3 separate regions of the Homo sapiens genome follow, and all the other regions are linked to region 1. Evidence: promoter capture Hi-C in human tissues and cell types (Jung and others, 2019). All regions are on one chromosome and are shown on one strand. The core of a region is centred on a gene start or on the middle of the fragment in contact, and the rest is flanking DNA. Distances in the headings are between cores, read along the strand shown. Region 1 holds the start of SCAMP1 (secretory carrier membrane protein 1). Region 2 overlaps ARSB (arylsulfatase B). Region 3 overlaps ARSB (arylsulfatase B).

Region 1 (3,170 bases), core at 417-2,916:
GTCAGTGAATTATCTGAATTAGGAAAGGCTAAAAGGTTCTTGATGTTTTATCTTCAAAATATTTTAAAATAACACCCATTTAACAATTTATGAACGGTCTCTTTAGAAAGTCTACCATTTAAGAACTACCTGATTTTCCACAACATGGAAGCAAGTCCAATACTAATTGAAACAAAACTGCCAGGAAAAAAAAAAAAGTCTTAAAATGCAACCATGTCACTGAAAGGTACAGGCCAGTTGTACTGAATTTTAAGTGACATTAGGGACAATGAAACAGTGACTGAGTCTAATTCTACACTGCTACAAAGTGAGTCGAGTTGTCAATAATAATCAGGGTCATTTCATTAAAATAATCCTCCTTGGAATTATCAGGCATTTAATAATCAGAGCAGAAATAGTTTTCCTCTTCCAGGATTCTTAATGAAAGATAAAACCAGGAGTAAAAAGATGTAAACTCAACAAGCCAGAAGTGACACTTGTGTGACCACAAATTAGAGTTCCTGTTTTATTCTGTGTGACTGCAAATTAAAGTTACTACTGCACATGGCCGGGGGGATTGAGAAACAACTTCAACCAACAGTTGGAAACAAATTACACGTGCTAACAGTTACACTCATTAGGAAATTCAGAATACTTTCAAAGAGAGAGTTATTTAGATGTTGCATTCATTTAAACGCAGACGATGAATATCTCAGCCGCCTTCCTTTGCAGGATTCTGTGCCAAGCCCTTCCGAAGCCGGGGTTGATAAGGTCGACTCCAAGAAGAAAAGCAGCTCAAGTAGGAAATGGTATCCTCACATAGCCCAGAGAACCGGTGACGCACTAGGAGCTTGGAAAATATCCCATCGTTTACCTTGCTAGAAGCAGCTGGGTAGGGAAGAGGTCGTCCACGTGCACTATTGTTTTCCAGATATGTTTATTTTTAAGTTTTGCTTTGGTATCAATAACCTCAACCTCAACCTAACAGAAAGAGGGGGGATGGCAGCGCCACTGGTGGTATTTGGGTGCAACACAAGTTTAAAAAATAAAAACATAACCTTTTTTTTTTTAATTGCAGCATACTCGGTGCCCTCACCTCTCTCCTCCTCCACACCTCTGCCATCACCCCACGCAGCTCTCCGCCGCCGCCACCTCGGGTCCCCATGACAACCCCACCCCAGGGCGGGCCCCCCTCCGCCGACTCCCGGCCCTGCCAGCCACACTTGCTTGGCAAGGGGCGACTCTACCTGCCCTCGGCTTTCTCTCCTGAGAGGCGGGCCAGGACCCCTCCGGGCGCGCGGGCCCAGTCCCGGCTGCAGACACGACCCTCACCAGTCGGGGACGTGTGGAAGGGCGACCGGGCACGAGCTGAGGAGGTTCCACCCCCAAGCCCCAAAACCCAAAGGAGTGACACGGGGCCGGGGCGCGACCCCAAATGGAGGACGGCGGCCCCGCGCCCCTCTCTGGGCTGCTAAGGGGAGCCGAGGGGCAGACGCAGTGGGCGCGAAGGAACTCGTCCGTTTTCACAAACAACGACGCGTCGCGGCGGCAGGAGATGCTGGGGCCGAAGCTCACCTTGAAGGGATTGTTGAGATCCGGGTCGGCAAACGGGTTACTGTCGAAATCCGACATCTCTCTGGCTCTCGGCGTCACCCACCCGACCCAGGCGCAGAGAGAGAGACGAGGCGAGGCCGCCGCCCCCCTGCGCGCTCACGTCGCCGCCGCCGAGCAGATCCGGGTGCAGCTCGCGGGCCACCCAGCCGGCCGCGCCACTGAGCATGCCCGGTGCGGCGGGCTCCTGGCCGCGGCGCAGCTCGCGTTCGCCATCCCGTTCCTCCGGGCCCGGATCCCACGCTCCGGGCTTTAGCTGCGACCGAGTAGGCAGTCGGGGCGAAGGAAACGGGAACTGAAAGCGATGAAAAGCGTTCCACACGCCACGAGCCCGCGGGATCCTCGGAGAGTATGGAACCCTTCCCCTCCGCTCTCAGCCGGAGGCCAGCTGCGTCCAGCCGGGCTCGGTCTTCTGAACACCGATTTCAAATCAGGTCCTCGGGGCCCAGCGTCACTTAGGGAAGTGGTGGCATTTTGTGGTAAGGACGCACACTTGTCAGGTTGGGGGAGGCAGCCTGAGTCGTGGGCCGCGCACCCCGGGAGCAGTGCCGTTAGACCGTGGGACGCGGGCACTGGAGAGGCTACTGCACCGCCCTCCGCAAATTACCTCCCCGGGGCGGGGGCGCGGCCGCTGCTAAGGATTTTTGCATACCCCTGACCCCACCTGAGAATCCCGGCCTCCCATCTTCCGGTCTCTCTGACTCTAGGTTGCTGCTAAATCACGGAGAGCAGCCTTGGCGCTGCCGGTCCCAACTTGATCCAAGGAGCCTTGAGAAGGAGATGAGATTCAGTACCAGGGGCCGGCCGTGGCTCCCATCCTCCGGAATCTGCAAAATGGCTACTTCTTCAGAAATAATGGGGAGAGGGATGGCAAGAGGCCAGAGATCAAGGCCCTCGAGTATTAACTTGAGCATTTGGGCACAAAATAGACACTTTTGGATTTTCCCGTCTTTTCCAACACCAAGGATGAGATTATCAAAAGATGTGTTAAATTAATTTGTACCGGCCGGGCGCGGTGGCTTACGCCTGTAATCCCAACACTTTGGGAGGCCGAGGCGGGCGAATCACAAGGTCATGAGTTCGAAACCAGCCTGGCCAATATGGTGAAACCCCCGTCTCTACTAAAAATACAGAAATTAGCCGGGAGTGGTGGCGTACGCCTGTAGTCCCAGCTACTCTGGAGGCTAAGGCAGGAGAATCGCTTGAATCCGGGAGGTGGAGGTCGCAGTGAGCCGAGACCGGGCCACTGCACTCCAGCCTGGGAGACAGAGCGAGACTCTGTCTCAAGAAAAAAAAAAAATCAATTTGTACCATTCCTTGCCCCACCCTGCCGAACTTATTGAAAGAGCATCGCTTTCCTCACTTTTCTCCTCTAACAGAAAAGCACTTAGATGAAGCTACAGGGAGCCAGAATTCTTTTGACTTGGTGGGTACCGGAGGATTGGAAGAATCTAGATTGAGTATTCCTTGGCCTTTGGGGAGCTTGCTCTATGCAAAGTCACCCAGGAAATGATACTCCCCCCACTGTGAAACACTAGCTAGAGATGATAGACAAAAAGCACATTTGTTGTAATCTCCCT
Region 2 (3,170 bases), core at 469-2,968, 610 kb before region 1:
CTCCTGCCAGTGGTCGCCTCTCCCTGGACTTTGAGGTTCAGAAGTGGGGCACAGGAGAGTGCAGAGCTGGAAGAAATGTTTACAGGGTGCAGGGATTGGGGAAAGTGCATGTCTCAAGGTGGGCGCTCCTAGGATCCCCTGGCAAAGGCACAGGAGGAGGGAGCTGTCAGAGGACCATGTAGCCTTGAGACCATGGGTGCCTCCTAAGAGAAAACAGTGTCTTTATTTCTGTGCTCCTTTAGGGGGAGAAACAAAGGATGCATTAGCTCCATAGGGACAAGCAAGATGGCCTCACTAAAGCACAGCAGAGCCCTGGGGTGACTTTCATGGGTTTGCTAAAGCCAGGTGTCCTTCCTAAGCCTAGCCAAATCCAAGAGACATTTTCCCAGGAGGGAAGGGGAGTGCGGAGGCCTCATTCTGCAAACATTGCAGCTATTTTAAAGAAACAATTCCAGATTTTATATCTTTTACCTGCCAGGAAATTGCAAATGAGGAAATAAGGAAATAAGTTTGGAGCTAAGTGGAATATGACCAGTGGAGTTAGAGGATTTTCTGGTTGCTTGATTTACGAGGTTTGTCATTTCAGGAATCACTTTGAGCATAAGCTGTTGCTCTCTGGTCATTATCTTTTGTTTGCGTTTCCTTAATCATATCACCTTTTGAGAGATTCCTTTCCCTCAGCTTTCTTCATATTTTCCTTCCTTTTCCATTTGGGCTTTCTTTGGAATTATAATTTAAACAGAGGGAGGCACTGAAACCCTTTCTGACTTGTTTATTCTTTTTTACAAACAACATCCCTTTGTGGGTTTAGTCAGAGATTTGCACTCTTCACTAATCAACACCAAAATAAATAGACTCTTAAAACTGTCAGTGACACGGGCCAGTTCTGCAGCCCGAGTCCTGAAGGGCCAAGCCAGATGGCAAAGCCAGGCCCCTAGCACACATAATGCGTGTCTGTAGGCTCTTGGCTTCAGCAGCATGGGCAGCTGACTGCTTTTCAGATGGCTTCTGTGGGGAGGGAGCAGATTTTCCACTATCCATTTGTTCTTTGGGCATCTCCAGGAATAAACCCTAAGGTGGCACAAGTGTTACTTGACCGTGATTAAAACCTGCTGTGTACTGGCCGAGGCACAGGCTAGAAATTCTGAACTCCTGCTTTGCCACCAGCATGTTCTGTGATTGCGTTCTGATCATGAAGCTTCCCATAGGCTCTCTGGTGTATAAGGTGGAGGGGTAGAGTGGCCCATTTTTCTGAATTTTTAAGTACTGCAGCAGGAGGTATTGCACACATATGTGGGCACATGAGGATATGAGTTCATTTTGCTCAGACCAGACTGACTGGACAGAACCTCCCTTCTGTTCAACGGGATATTATCTCAACACTGTTGAGGTGAGGAGAGAAAGAGCATCTATCGCCTTCTGTGCAGCAGTGGTTTGCTTCGCTCTTGGGAGAGTTTGAGTGTAGCTGAAATATTGTGCTCTGAACTCCCATATAGATAACTAATCAATTGACTGTCTGGACCTCTGAAAGGGGAGTTGAAAGAGATTCTGATATGGGAGCTGCCATCTTCCTCTCCCCCAGCAAGAGATTGGATTTTCTCCTTTAAGCTCATGAGACTATACTGCAAGGAACTCCTAGGTGTGCAGAAGACAGAATAACACACTGGACCAAATAAATTGTTACGTGCAACCAATATGTAAATAAGGATCTCTCAGTTATGTCACAGAAAGAGCCTAGAACAAGCCAGGTCCTCCACTGGATTTGCAGACCTTTTGCCTTTGTGGAGAGGATTTTTGATGGTCAAGTAAAATCTTAGGAGAAGTTGTTTTTTGAGAGAAGATTTGGTTTAATGAAGAGGAGACAGCCACACATGGTAGATAGGGAAGTAACCCCTTGGACTTTCGTATATTACATGTAGAACCTTCTCCATTCACACACACTTCTTTGGACATTGCAGATGGGTGTTAGAATGAAATTGTTTTATATTCTGTTGTGTTTATCAGGGCACCCTTATTTTTTTCTTTTGATTCCTATTGGTGCCCGGTTGCCTTCCTGCCCCTTGCAGCATGGCGTGGCTCTGTAGTTCTGTGCTGAAGTGCTGGGTTGGAACCAGTTCGGCATTTGCCTGTTTACTGCTTCTCTACACATTACAGCTTCCTTCCTTCAGATAGTGTTTGAACAGACCGAAAACATGTTTTTGGATGTCATCCAGGGTTTGGCTTCTGCTTCCCAATAATGCCATAAAAATGCTCTGTCAAATAAATTCTCAGGAACTGAAAAGAACACATTCCCTGCTCCATATGATTGTCAGTAATGGAGGAAGGCTTCAGCTGACCACCTGGCTTGGTGCCCACGGCTTAGGAAAACCAAATCACACAACATCTCTTGGCAGTGCTTTCTAGCAATCAGAATTAATTCTCTGCATGTGATGGATGAGCTTTCCATTTAAGGGAATTTTCGCAGAGCATTTATCTCCACTGGGGCTTTTGGATTCCATAAAATATTATCTTTACTTATCCTGCCTGGTTGCCAATTAGCATACTATATGCTATGAAGTTTTTGAGTCCTAGGGTCAATTTTCTCTTCAGTAAGCTTCCAGAGTTAACCATGGAAAGAATACTTTGATTTGGGGTGTGTGTGTGTGTGTGTGTGTGTGTGTACGTATGCGTGCAAATGTGCTAAGAGGAATGCTTCCCTTTCCCAGCCTGGATATTATAACATCCTTATCATTCAGGGTCCCAGCTGGAAAGAGGTGGCACATTCAAATTAGGGAGGGTTTATTTACAAAGGGACCATTTTAAAAGGTGTGAATGTGTGGGGCAAAATGCTAGGGATAGTGTAGTAATCCAGTGGAGCTGTTACTACTCCTAGACCAGAAGAGAAGAAAGGAAGGGCCAATTACCAGAACCTAGAAGGAGAGAGGCAGATAGAGAAAGAAGTCTGCTTCCAGAGTGACCTTTGGTAGAGAGACTCATGTAGCCAGGCTAAGCAGCGTGTCAGGTGAGGCCATGCACTCTCCTCTTTCCCTCTCACTCCTGCCAGGGCTCCCCATTGGCTAAGCCCAATCAGAAACCTGAAGACAAGTGTCCTTTGACTTGATCCTCATAGGTCAGCCTCCTAGGGCAGAGAGCAGGACTGAGAAAGCAGCGTGGATTTGAAGGGCAAACAG
Region 3 (3,170 bases), core at 236-2,735, 530 kb before region 1:
AGCCAGGTGAAAGGGGAAACCCCTTTTAAAATCATCAGCTCTCGTGAAGCTTGTTCACTACCACGAGAACAGTATGGGGGAATCTGCCCCTGTGATTCAATTATCTCCCACTGGGTCTCCCCTACAACACATGGGAATTATGGGAGCTACAATTCAAGATGAGATTTGGGTAGGGACACAGCCAAACCGTATCAATCGGTTATTTGGTGCCTGGCTGCCAGTCGCACTCCACCAGAACCCTCCTCTTGCTAGCCCAGCTGGACATTCTCCTTGCTGGTGCTCTTAGTCAAGATGTAAAGTCTGGTTAGTGTCTGAGCTGGTGGTCAGAGCACTTATCTGCCCTGAATGCTGCAAACCATTTTAAACCCCTACGAATAATCAAATGTGTATTTGAACAAATCTTCAGTTTCTGGTGTTTAATTTGAATCCCAGGCTATTGTTATAGTGTTTTTTTCTATGATAATTGATGTCCTTTATTTAAACTCATGGGAACAGAAAGGAGTTATCCTGGCTCTCCCCTGATAGTAACAACCCCCCTCACAATTCACTGTGTTGTTGCACTTCTCAAGAAATTACCTATAGAATAGAGAATGCAGGCTGGGCGTGGTGGCTTCTGCCTGTAATCCCAGCACTATGGGAAGCCGAGGTGGATGAATCACCTGAGGTCTGGAGTTCAAGACCAGCCTGGCCGACAAGGCGAAACCCTGTCTTCACTAAAAATGCAAAAATTAGCTGGGCATGGTGGTGGGCACCTGTAGACCCAGCTACTCAGGAAGTTGAGGCATGAGAATCGCTTGAACCCTGGAGGCGGAGGTTGCAGTGAGCCAAGATTGCACCACTGTACTCCAGCCTGGGAGACAGAGTGAGACACTGTCTCAAAAAAAAAAAAAAAAAAAAAAAAAGAATAGAGAATGCAATCTAGGAGGACTCTATGCTTAGAATACTTTGGTCTTATGAAAACGTGATGTTTTGGAGTGTGGCTATGATACTTAAATCTAATATATGTTTAGTAAATATCCAGATAGGAGCCTATTCTGTTCTGTGTACTTTGCTGGTGCTGATGACTAGCATACATAAAAATAGCTAATATTATTTAGCACTGCTTCTATGCCAGGCACAATATTAAGGTGGGTATTTTGTTATCCTCATTTCTCAAATAAGGAAACTTAGGCTCAGAGATTGAGTACTTGCCCAAACCCACAGTGCTTAGCTCCTCTCAGTTCCCTGCATTTCAGTGAAATTAGACATGGGGCAGTAGGGGTGATAGGGGAAAGTGATGATGGTCATAAAACACCTAGACCTATACCTTTTTGTTTATACCTAGTCATCATTTAGCTCAAGTTTTCCTTAACTTCTGGCAGCAGAGTATACCTAATAGTATAACTAGTCTTTAATTAAGAAGCAGCCTTGACACAGACACCCTAGTCTCTAATGTGCGATTGCATAAGGCCTCCTGCTCCCTGTGCCTGGGCTCTCATCTCTCTGGTGGTCACTTGGCTGGCTCTGTCCTGTCCTTATGGTTTCAGCTCCTCCACAAAGCCCAGTCATTGCCTCCCATGAATGGAGAGATCTTATCTCTTTTTCTCACTCACTCCGTGAGGGACAGGACCTTGTCCATCCTGTTTGCTGCCCTTTTTCCAGATCTGGAGTGGTCCCTGGAACATGGCAGCACTCAAGAAAGATGTGTTAAAGGAATAAGTGAGTTCTTTCTTCCAGGCCAAGACTGATGCTTCTTGAAATGCTCCCAATCAACCCTCTTAGACTCCAACATAACTGACCAGGGACCAGATTAGACAAACAATTCTGATATTTGAGGGTTTGATTTACTTAAATTCTCACTGGGGTCCAAGAGCACCCCTTGCCAGCTCCTATAGTTTAAGCAGCAGTATGTAGAATAGCCAATGAAAAGTCAAGGTCACAGAGTAGCTGGACAAAGGCTTAGAAAAAACAATGCAGTGACCTAAGTTAATGTTTAGTGCCTTTAACCTCTATTTTCGGTGAGTGGCCTTTTCCCTAATTATTTGTTCCTCCAAATCATTGAGCCCTTCTGTGTGGTAGGTCCTGTGCTAGGTCTTGGAAATAAAAACATTAAGAAACTTTTTGCTCTTGAGAAGCAGAGTTCATGGGGAAGACAAAGCCATGAACAACTGATTAACAATAGACAGAGCTAAGTATAGTAGAAAATGTGCACATAAAATGTAGCAGAAATACAGAGCAGAGATGAAGACCATCTAGGGCACTAAGTGGCAGGTTCACAGAAGATATGATCTTTAACCCGTGGCACTTTAGGCAAGGGAGCCAACATGTGCAAAGGCAAAATTAGCATGAAAGGGCATGACATATTCTAACAACAGGGAGAAGTTAGTTCTACGTGACTGAAGCTCAGGGCACTTTTTATGGGGGAGGACAGGAGTTGATACCCAAAAAGGAGGTTGGGGGCAGATATGAAGGATTCTATATGTGGGCCTGAAGTTGGAACTTTTTCCCTGATTGGAAAGCAATCAGGTCTTTAAACATGCATGTGGCCTGATTGATTTTGGGTTTTACAAACACCTCTGGTGGGAACTTGAAGCGGTATATAAATTAGCCCAGGAGCCCAGACAGAGGAGTGCCTGACCTAAAGCAATGGGCTGCAGAAGGGGGGATGATTGGAAAGCTGTTTTAAAGGTAGACTTGGCAGAATCAAATGCACATTCTGTCAGAAATGATTCAATGTAGTGCAACAGGGAAAGAGTAGCCAAGCGTGGTGGCACACACTTGTAGTCCCAGCTACTTGGGAGGCTGAAGTGGGAGGATTGATTGAGCCCAGGAGATCGAGGCTGCAGTGAGCTGTGATCCTGCCACTGCACTCCATCCTGGTTGGAGGAGTGAGACTTTGTCTCAAAAAAAAAAAAAAAAAGATAAGATTTGAGAATATCAGAATGTAATTTGAATATCTAGGTAGATAATGTCTCCAAAATCTTTTAGCAGGAGAAGATTGAATTTACCGAATCCTTTAGATGTGTACTAAGACATATATTAGCACTCCAGTTTGCCTCTCAGTAATTTAAAAAAAAATCCAAAGAATCAACCATCAACAAGCAGATACTTTTCTGGGACAAAGAGGCTTCTCCATTTTTGAAACGATGTTGCCTACTCATCTGTTAGTCACCCTTGCATCAGGGCCGTGT

The links. The method cuts DNA at HindIII sites, captures the fragments that hold promoters and counts their contacts. A contact is called where the count stands out against the background at its distance.
Region 2: a contact is called between a fragment that was not itself captured here and the fragment with the promoter of SCAMP1 in region 1, in 2 of the 25 tissues and cell types used here (IMR-90 fibroblasts and dorsolateral prefrontal cortex).
Region 3: a contact is called between a fragment that was not itself captured here and the fragment with the promoter of SCAMP1 in region 1, in 1 of the 25 tissues and cell types used here (pancreas).

What each region holds. Positions count from the first base shown.
Region 1 is chr5:78,359,113-78,362,282 of GRCh38, reverse strand. SCAMP1 (secretory carrier membrane protein 1) reads right to left here and starts at 1,666. Exons shown (of 9, transcript NM_004866.6): 1 at 1,555-1,666. The coding sequence starts at 1,611. It overlaps SCAMP1-AS1 (SCAMP1 antisense RNA 1), which reads left to right and starts at 1,742. Exons shown (of 2, transcript NR_105014.1): 1 at 1,742-2,069; 2 at 2,298-3,170. RefSeq lists enhancers at 907-1,026, 1,421-2,017, 1,937-2,096, 2,127-2,216, 2,018-2,614 and silencers at 1,117-1,236, 1,667-1,756. The HindIII fragment of the contact is 19,046 bases long and covers 1-3,170 here.
Region 2 is chr5:78,972,007-78,975,176 of GRCh38, reverse strand. All of the region lies in intron 1 of ARSB (arylsulfatase B), which reads left to right. Among named protein-coding and RNA genes, the nearest start is that of ARSB, 12 kb to the left of the region's middle. RefSeq lists enhancers at 1-24, 25-544. The HindIII fragment of the contact is 3,671 bases long and covers 1-3,170 here.
Region 3 is chr5:78,889,981-78,893,150 of GRCh38, reverse strand. The region is part of intron 4 of ARSB (arylsulfatase B); the gene reads left to right. Among named protein-coding and RNA genes, the nearest start is that of ARSB, 94 kb to the left of the region's middle. The HindIII fragment of the contact is 6,969 bases long and covers 1-3,170 here.